2 separate regions of the Homo sapiens genome follow, and region 2 is linked to region 1. The links are contacts of gene promoters, found by promoter capture Hi-C in blood cells and fetal thymus (Javierre and others, 2016). All regions are on one chromosome and are shown on one strand. The core of a region is centred on a gene start or on the middle of the fragment in contact, and the rest is flanking DNA. Distances in the headings are between cores, read along the strand shown. Region 1 holds the start of MCTP2 (multiple C2 and transmembrane domain containing 2). Region 2 overlaps CHD2 (chromodomain helicase DNA binding protein 2).

Region 1 (4,434 bases), core at 601-3,100:
TAGATTTCTGTATCTTTAGTTGTTTCACTTTCTATACCATTTAATGATTGAAAAATGCGGTTGGACTGCCGGAACCACAGAACAGGAACTCCACTGGGGCAGGAGTTAAAGGCAAAAAAGCTTTTGTGTGGGTTCACTTACTATTTTAATTCATTTGTATTCTTAGTCAGCTTTAAAGGTATGATTGCTTCGTCTGCCTACTGCTCTTTCTCTTCTTCCTTTCATGCTGTTTTACCCTTACCTCTCTCTGTTCTCTGCTAGGGGATGTAACCTTCGGCACGGTGGGAAAAGCCAATTTTGCCATAGGCCTCAGCTTGCTCTGACTCGGCTACTAACTTGACTCATAGCTTCAGGCAGGTTATTTCATGGTTCTGATGCTCATTTTCCTCATCTTGAATCAGAGATTTTATTAACTGTCTCCTGGTTTGTGAAAATTCAATATGATCACGTGTTACATGCCAATCACAGAAACTGGTGCGAAGTTGTGTTCCTCAGTGGTAGCTATTGTTGTAAGTCGGAATTGCATGACAGTGGCAGCTGTTTTCTATCACGTCCTCATGTTTTCTAAATTTTTATGCCCCTTCCTCCCATTTCCTACCTTAGTATTGTTAATAGCTAACTTTTATTAAGTGGTTACCATGGCCCAGGACACTGTAATGAGGATTTTATGTGAATTACCTAATTAATTTCTCAGAAAGTATGAGATAGCTATTATTTTAAGCTATTTAAGCTATTTTAAGCTATTTAAACAACCAGTTTGTTGAAGTTAAAATTTAGAGAGGTTAAGTGAACTCGTCCATTTACACAATTAGTTGCCCAGGCAGAATTTGATTTGAGGTCTGACTCCAAAGCCGGAGCTCTTAATCACCAGTGACACCAACTAAACGCTTCATTTCAGAGCTCGCCTATTCCCAGAGGTCCCATTCCCGTTTTAAGGTTATTTTCTGTAACTCTCTTGTATCTAATTTAAAAATGCTATTTCCCAGAGATGAGTCCCTGATCTCCCAGAAGGCATGGATCATACATTTCTTTTCCTAATCCACCCAAATTCCTAGAGCGCACAGACTTAGGCTCGTTCATAGACGGGAAAAGAAACTGACCAGGCAGTGAAACCGAGCAAACAAAGTGCAATAAGACAATTACAGCAGGAAAGCGGCGTAAAAAAAAGTAGAAAAAGAAAGTAAGGGAAAGGGGAAATAAATAGCAAATATTCGCTGAGTGCCAACAATCGCACGGGAGGGTCTTTAGGGTTCTCTGCCGAGTACTCGGGACGGCTTGCTGAGCAGTACGCCGGCCTTATCTCATAGATGAGGCACCAAGGCTCAGGAAACAGTTCTGTGGATCTGGGCGGGCATCTTCCACCCACAGTCGCGCACACGTGGCATAGGTTAATAGGCTGTCTGGCTCGGGTACCTCTTCCCAGGGTCAGGGCGTTACAAAGGGAGGCTGCTGTCTTCCCATGAATCTATTAGGGACCTACAGGAGCGAAGAGAACCCTTCTGAGTATCAGCGAAGACAGCTTATTAAGACTTTACGAGTTTGCAAGCCATCCTCGTCCTATTTCCTCACTTCGGACTTTTTGGACACACCTTCCTTTTCCTGTGAGCCAACCCAAACGAATGAGTTACAAGTAATCGCCTTCTCTACGCCCAGCCAGTGCCCAGCACCAAGCATAGCGCCTCCTTGCAACACCCGGCCGAGCTCCCGGCGGCAGCGCGGGCGCTTGGGTCGGAGGCTGCTCAAAGGTGACGCGCGGCCGCCTCCTCCCCTTTAGGCGGGGCTCGCAAGGGCGGTGGGGGGGCCCGAGGAAGTCCGGGGGCCCTCGGTGATGCCCCCGCCCCCGCCGCGTCAGGGTTGCTCCCTGCGCTTCCGAGTGGCGACTGCAGCGGGTCCGGTGCAGGTGAGGGGCGCGCGCCTGCCCAGCTTTGCAGCCCCCGAACGCGGCCTCGCACAGGTGAGGGCGGTGCCGGGTTCACCTGGCAGCGCGCGTGGGCCGGGCAGCACGGTCGCCGCCTGGGGGTGGGCGTCTTCTCTCAACCGAAGCTGGGAGTTGGGGAGCTGGAGGGTCCAGGATGAGAATTCAGTGGCGCTACTACCCCGGAGCTGCTTGTGGTTCAGAGATCAGAAAGGTGTCCTGAGGACTGGAGGCAGAAATCCAGGCGTGGCGTACTGGAAGGCGCACTAGGGGAGGGCAGCCTGGCCCAGAATTTCTTTGCATTTTAAAGGCCACACATTCAGTCTCCCCGGGGCGCTACGGAGGTAGTCACCGCCACATCCAGGACTCCTTCCACAGAGGTCAGTTCCTCAGCTGGGTGGGCTTTAATACGCTCTCTTCGTAGAGACCCGGAGGTTCAACTTTAATTCTTTGCGCTGACATTTGCTCAACGACACCGGAGCAGAAATCCTTGGGATAATTGCGTAGGTAACAAACAGTGTCTCAATCCCACTGAAGATAAGTAAGTTAAAAATAAAGACAGTGATGTTGGTGGTGAACTTGAGTGGCGATTAGTTTCCGCAATTAGTTCCCTCCTGCACTGTCCATTTGTTAAGCAAATGTGCTGACGGCTTTTTTTAAATGATTGGGTTGCCATAAAAGAGGTTTTCTCTAGTCTGAATGAACTTCTGTGCGATGCTGACTGAGGGTTTCAGCCTCCTCTAGATGCTTACAAGAGCTTGGTCTGGAAGGTACAAGGGTGCGAACCCTTAAGGTACCAAGCAGCTTCTCAGTGAACCGTGAGACGTTAGAACACTTGCTTCAGGACGCACAGAATTCAGACACCACTTATTGAAGGATTTGTATGGATTATAATTTACATTAGCATTCATTTTTTGCTTGAGTCAGTAGCATTTCAATTCAACAAATATTTATTGTACACCTGTTAACGGGCAGACCTCTGAGAGCCGGGCTGGTGTGCTGTTGGGTAGCACAGGTGTTGATATTAATACAAAGGGGAATCTTAAGGCACTTATTCCTCACAGGTGGGTGTTTAGAACGAGACCAATGGTGCTGCGCTTTGCCTCAGCAGCACCTGTGTAATCGCTGGTTATAAGTATTTAAATGCAGGGAGAATGTAAATCTTTGAAGAGTCTCTGTCATTAGCCTGATCAGTCATTCCAAAGCAATAAAAATTGTCAAAACCATGCTTAAAATAAGATTATTAAGAATTAGCTCTGTGCCAAGCACCATGCTAGGCACTTTGTCTTGTCTATGAAATCTACAAAGTAGATACTATTCCCCTGTGCAGATAAGGAACTGAGGCAGAGAGGAGTCCAGTAATTTGTACAAGGTCAGTGGTGAATTTAGAAATTGCATGTGGCTATTTCTGAGTGCAGAACTCGTACTTTTTCACTATTCCATGCTGTCTCTAAGATGGAGAGTGTAAATCCGGCAGATTTAATATAAGAATTCAAATTTATATTCATAGATCCTATCTCCTGGGGATTAATGGAGTTAAAGTAGTCCTCAGGAATGAAGTGAGCACTGTTTTCATTGCACTTGTGTGGTCAAGCTGTGACCTATCTGTGACTAGTAGATGTAGCTTTAAAAGATAAAATTTATTATGTGTCTTAACATATTTTGAAAGGCCTTTCAAAATATGTTAAAAGATAAAATTTATTATGTCTCTTAACATATTTTGAAAGGCCTGATATATCCAAACAGGGCCAATTAATAAAATTGCATATATATTCTCTCTGTGTTATACATGGAAGGAACAGCTAATTTCCTATTATTGGTGTGCTTTACTATGGTCTCCTCCTGCAGAGGTGAGTTTCTCAGCTGAGTGGGCTTTGAAATCAATTTCAGCTTGATTTCTTACAGCTGCAAGATGATTAGCGGTCTCTTGTCACCTGGAAAGGACTTTGTGTTTGTGTAAACCTGTGCTCACACACGAATATATATTTTTCCTTAAACCTATTTCCAGAAGTACTACTTCTGGAAATTGTAGAGTACTGCAATGTGATGATCTGGCGAGGAATCAAGTTCCTTATTTGACTTTTGCATAAAGGATTTATAACAACTGACAATTTCTTTAAGTGCATGTAAACCAGGAAAGTAATTTTCAAATTAAAATTATTATACTGTGGAGAATGGAAAGTGAGTGAAAAATAGTACTCTGAATTCAAATAATATTTCTTGTTGTGGAAAACACTTGCTTTCTTAAAACTTTTCTTGTAATTGTTGGTAATTACACACAGAAATGGAAGGGGTTTTATATTTAAATTACCTTGAATTGTTGCCAGTTAACTGTTGAGAAAAGGCTTTGCCCGTGAAGCGAGGATCAGGTAGAATATTTTGCCTGCGTCAATCTTGGCACAGATTTTTTTTTTCCCTCTATCTTCACGTGGAGGTGAAACAGCCAGACACCTTAAACTCCTCTTTAGGAGCTGAGCTGTTAAGTCCTTCCTAGAAGGTGTTTATAAAAGTGTGCCTGA
Region 2 (4,434 bases), core at 975-3,474, 1.2 Mb before region 1:
GAAATTTTTGAACTTCTTGGATCTGTGGGTTTATTGTTTCCATAAAATTTGGAAATTTTTACAATCTTCTTCAAATATTTTTTCTGATCCCCCACTCTCTCTTCTTCTTTGGAGATTCTCATTACACCTATATTAGCTTGCTTGAAGTTGTCTCACAGCTCACTTGTATTCTGTTGACTTTTAAAAAATTATGCTTTCTGTTTCACTGTGGATAGTTTCTATTGCTACCTCTTCAAGTTCACTAATACTTTCCTTTTCAATGTCAAGACTGCTGTGAGGCCCATCCAGTGTACTTTGCATTTTATACATTGTAGTTCTAAAAGTTCGGAAAGTTGTTTTTGGGTCTTTTTATATATGTTCTGTGTCTAACCTTTTAAAACCTGGAACACAGATATAACAATGGTTTTGATGTCCTTGTCTGCGAATCTTATCACTTGGGTCAGTTTCAGTTGATACCTCCTCACTGTGGGTCTTGCTCCCCTGGTGCTTTCTGTGCCTAGTAATTTTTGTCAGATGCCAGATGTAACATTTACCTTGTTGGGTGCTGGATATTTCTGTATTCCTGTAAGTATTCTGGAGCTTTGTTATGAGTTGCAGGTTATTTGGAAGCAGTTTCCTTTTTCAGGTCTTGCTGTTAAGATTCGTTAGGTAGAACCAGAGCAGTGCTCAGTCAAGGGCTAATGATTGCCCACCCCCAAGGTAAAGAGCCTCATTGCACTCTACCCAATTGCGTTAGTCTGTTTTGCAGGAATACCTGAGGCTGGGTAATTTATAGAGAAAAGAGTTTTATTTGGCGCACAGTTCCGCAGGCTGTACAAGCATAGCACCAGCATCTGGTTGGCTTCTGGAGAGGCCTCAGGGAGCTTTTACTCATGGTGGAAGGTGAAGTGGCAGTAGGCGTCCCATGGCAAGAGAGGGAGCAAGAGAGAGAGGAGGAGGTGCCAGCCTCTTTTAAAGCACCAGCTCTCACGTGAACTCAGAGAACTCACTCATTATCACAAGGACAGCACCAAGCCATTTATGAGGGATCTGCCCAAACACCTCCCACTACAACATTGGAGGTCACATTTCAACATGAGATTTGGAGGGGACACATACCCAAACCGTATCACCATCTGGAGGTCTTTGGTGTGGCTGGTGAGAACAGGCACGATGCCAGTTCTTTGTGAGCACAGGGCACTGTTACCTTCAGTCTTTTCGGGTGGTCCTTTCCCTGGCCTTGGGTAGTTTCCCCACATGCACATCCTAAGCAGTATTCAGCTGTATACCTGGGAACCCTCTGTAGATCTTCAAACTTCTTTCTCTGCAGCACTGTCTTCTCTCATGCCATGCCCTGTGAACTCTGGCCACCTTGGTTCCCCATCCCTCACCTTGGGAAGCCAACTGGTGTCTTTCTGGGTTTCCTTCTTCCTGTGTCACAGCCTGAGGGACTATCTCATGATAGTGAACAGGAGCCGTTAAAAGGCTCATTTCATTAGTGTCCATTCCTCAGGGATCACTGTTCTTCATTGCCTGATGTCTGGTGTCTTGAAAACCACTGTTCTATGCATTTTGTCCCTTTTGGCTGTTTCAGGCAGGATGGTAAATCTAGTCCCTGTTATTCCATTTTGACTGGAACTTGAGATTGCTCACTTCTTCCTCCCTCTTTCTTTCATTGAGGTGAAATTCATATTACATAAAGGAACTATTTTAAAGCGAACAACTGAATGACCTTAGTGCATTTATAATATTGGGCAGCCACCACTTCTATCTAGTTCCAAAACACTTTCATCAGTCAGAGAAAACCCTATAACCATTAAATAATCCTTCCCCATTATTCCCTCTCCCCAGCCTCTGGCAGCCACCAGTTTGCATTCTGTCTCTCTGGATTTGCCTGTTCTAGACATTTCATATAGAAAGAGTCATACAATATGTGACCTTTTGTGTCTGGCTTCTTTCACTTAGCATAATGTTTTCAAGGTTCATTCATCAGTACTCATTCCATCCTTATGGCTGAATAATATTTCGTTGTGTGGATATATACCACATTTTGTTTATCCATTCATCTGTTGATGGACATTTGAGTTGTTTCCATCTTTGGGCTGTTGTGAATAATGCTGCAGTGAAGATTGGTGTACAGGTACTTGACTACCTGTTTTCAGTTTTGGATATGTGCCTGGGAGTGGAATTATTAGTCATATTCTTTACGTTTTTAGGAAACACCAAAATGTTTCTACGATGGCTGAACCATTTTACATTCCTACCAGCAATGTGTAAGAGTTGAAGGTTTTCCTTATCTTTGCCAACACTTATTTCCTGGGTTTTTTTTTTGTGTTTTTTTTTAATGAGTATCTCCATCTTCGTGGGTGTGAAGTAGTCTCATTGTGGCTTGAACATGCATTTCCCTAGTGATTAATGACATGGAGCATCTTCTCATGGTTTTTTTTGGCCATTTGTATAGCTTCTTTGGAGAAATGTCTGTTCAAATCCTTTGCCTGTTTTTGAGTTGGGTTGTTTTTGTTGTTGAGTTTTAGTAATTCTTTTTTTAATGGTATCATGAGCAGTTTACCATGGTCCAAGCTAAAAATTTTAATACTCTTCACACTGAGTTGGTTTTTAAGATAATTTTATTAACTAGTCACTCACTTGTTGCATATTTAGGTTGATGGTGTTATTAATAACTTACAAAATAATTTCTGTGGCTCTTTTTCTCATGGGCTGGGTCCAGGAATATGGTAATGTTTATGGATCTTACCAGATTTTTCCTAAAGGGAGTGAGTTTGCAAAAGCCATCAGTAATTTTTCAAGTGTGTACTTGTGTCACTGCACACTTGAGCCTTATTTCATAGGATGTATTTTGCTAATAAGTGTAAAATGACTCTGTTATTAATTTTTTTGATTCCTAATAATGTGAGCATTTGTCCTTGAATATGAGTATATGAGGAAGAGCCAAGTGGGTAGTGAAGAGAAGTGGATGGGAATCTGGCTTCAGTCTTTCGACTAATCCTTGCATCTCTATTTCAGGCACCATCATGACTCCAAGCGGAGGAGATCCGATGAATTTAGGCCTCAAAATTACCACCAGCAGGATTTCCGACGAATGTCTGATCACCGCCCCGCTATGGGCTACCATGGCCAGGGACCCTCAGACCATTACCGCTCTTTCCACACAGATAAACTGGGGGAATATAAACAGCCTCTACCCCCATTGCACCCTGCAGTCTCAGATCCTCGCTCACCCCCTTCTCAGAAATCTCCTCACGATTCCAAGTCACCCCTGGATCATAGGTCTCCTTTGGAGAGATCACTAGAACAGAAAAACAACCCAGATTATAACTGGAATGTTCGGAAAACATAAAGGACAGCTCGTAAAGGAGAGAGTAAGAGTCACCAAACACGTGGATATTTTTGGTCTGATCCTACAGTAGCCGGTTATCTAGACCAGTAAGTGGAGTTTTGGACATGCTGCTGCTGTCAACTCACTGGCTGAAGGAGCACTTCAAGGAATGGGAGGCCTTTCACTGGGTCCAGCTCTGATTCGGGTCACCACTCCTGCACTTTGGCACCCCATCCCATTCCAGCCTAGTTCTGGCCTCCCACTTTGACGGGCACTTGGAGGAGGAGCTGACTGTGTGTGTACCAGCTTCACTGGGATGTGTTTCCCCAGTCAAGGAACAGGGGATCTTCAGAGTCATGAATGTTTTCTTGCCAGGGTCAGTGTTCCCAGGACCTTAGTGCATGGTCGGGGCAGGAACTGGTGCATGGAGGCTGCTGGGACCTGGTGAACAGTGTGTGATTTGGTTGATTTGGTTCACTCTGACATGATGGATGCTGCTGATGGGGAGTGGCGAGTTGGGGCAAGCGGGTGGGGACAAGCATAGGACTTGAAGGGGAGCAGGTACACCCCTCAAATGTGTTCTTGGGAGAAGTGATACACTCGGCCTCATTATGTGAAACCTGTGGGTGGGGTTGGGGTGGAGAAGTAGAGAGAGGGCAACAGCTTCCACAACTGCTTCATCTCTGCCAACACTAATTTTTCCCACACTGTCTTTGTACATTTCAGAGCTTTGGTCTCCTGAGTGGGCCTCCTTTTCCCACTGTGCCAGGGAAGGTAGGTTTCTCTGGCTGACTGAGTACTGTGAGTGAGGCAACACTGATGCCAGCATGGGTCTTACTTGACTGGGGAGTAGGCTGAGTGAGGGGTAGGGTGGGGTAGGTGGGGAGTAGTGTGGCCAGGGAACTGGAATCCCTGGTGGATTTCTGATTCCTGTGGTGAGAAGGAAAGCTACAGGACCTGGAGAAGGGGATGCAGAGGCAGGCCTGCTGACCAACTTGTTGCAATCACAAAGGTGGGGGTCCTGGTGCAGGCAGTGAACAGGCTTCTAATGTGGGGTTCAGTAGTGCCAGCAAGTGGGGGAAACTTTCAGTATTGCGCTAGGTCAACACTTCCTGCTG

The links. Contacts are between HindIII fragments. The CHiCAGO score rates a contact against its expected background, and 5 or more counts as called.
Region 2: a fragment that was not itself captured here is called in contact with the fragment with the promoter of MCTP2 in region 1 in 5 of 17 cell types (M0 macrophages, neutrophils, naive CD8 T cells and 2 more); the score reaches 7.5 in M0 macrophages.

What each region holds. Positions count from the first base shown.
Region 1 is chr15:94,229,711-94,234,144 of GRCh38, forward strand. It overlaps MCTP2 (multiple C2 and transmembrane domain containing 2), which reads left to right and starts at 1,851. Exons shown (of 23, transcript NM_001385001.1): 1 at 1,851-1,954. RefSeq lists an enhancer at 106-245 and a silencer at 1,781-1,910. The HindIII fragment of the contact is 9,020 bases long and covers 119-4,434 here.
Region 2 is chr15:93,021,369-93,025,802 of GRCh38, forward strand. It overlaps CHD2 (chromodomain helicase DNA binding protein 2), which reads left to right. Exons shown (of 39, transcript NM_001271.4): 39 at 3,004-4,434. The coding sequence ends at 3,337. Among named protein-coding and RNA genes, the nearest start is that of RGMA, 66 kb to the right of the region's middle. The HindIII fragment of the contact is 5,768 bases long and covers 1-4,434 here.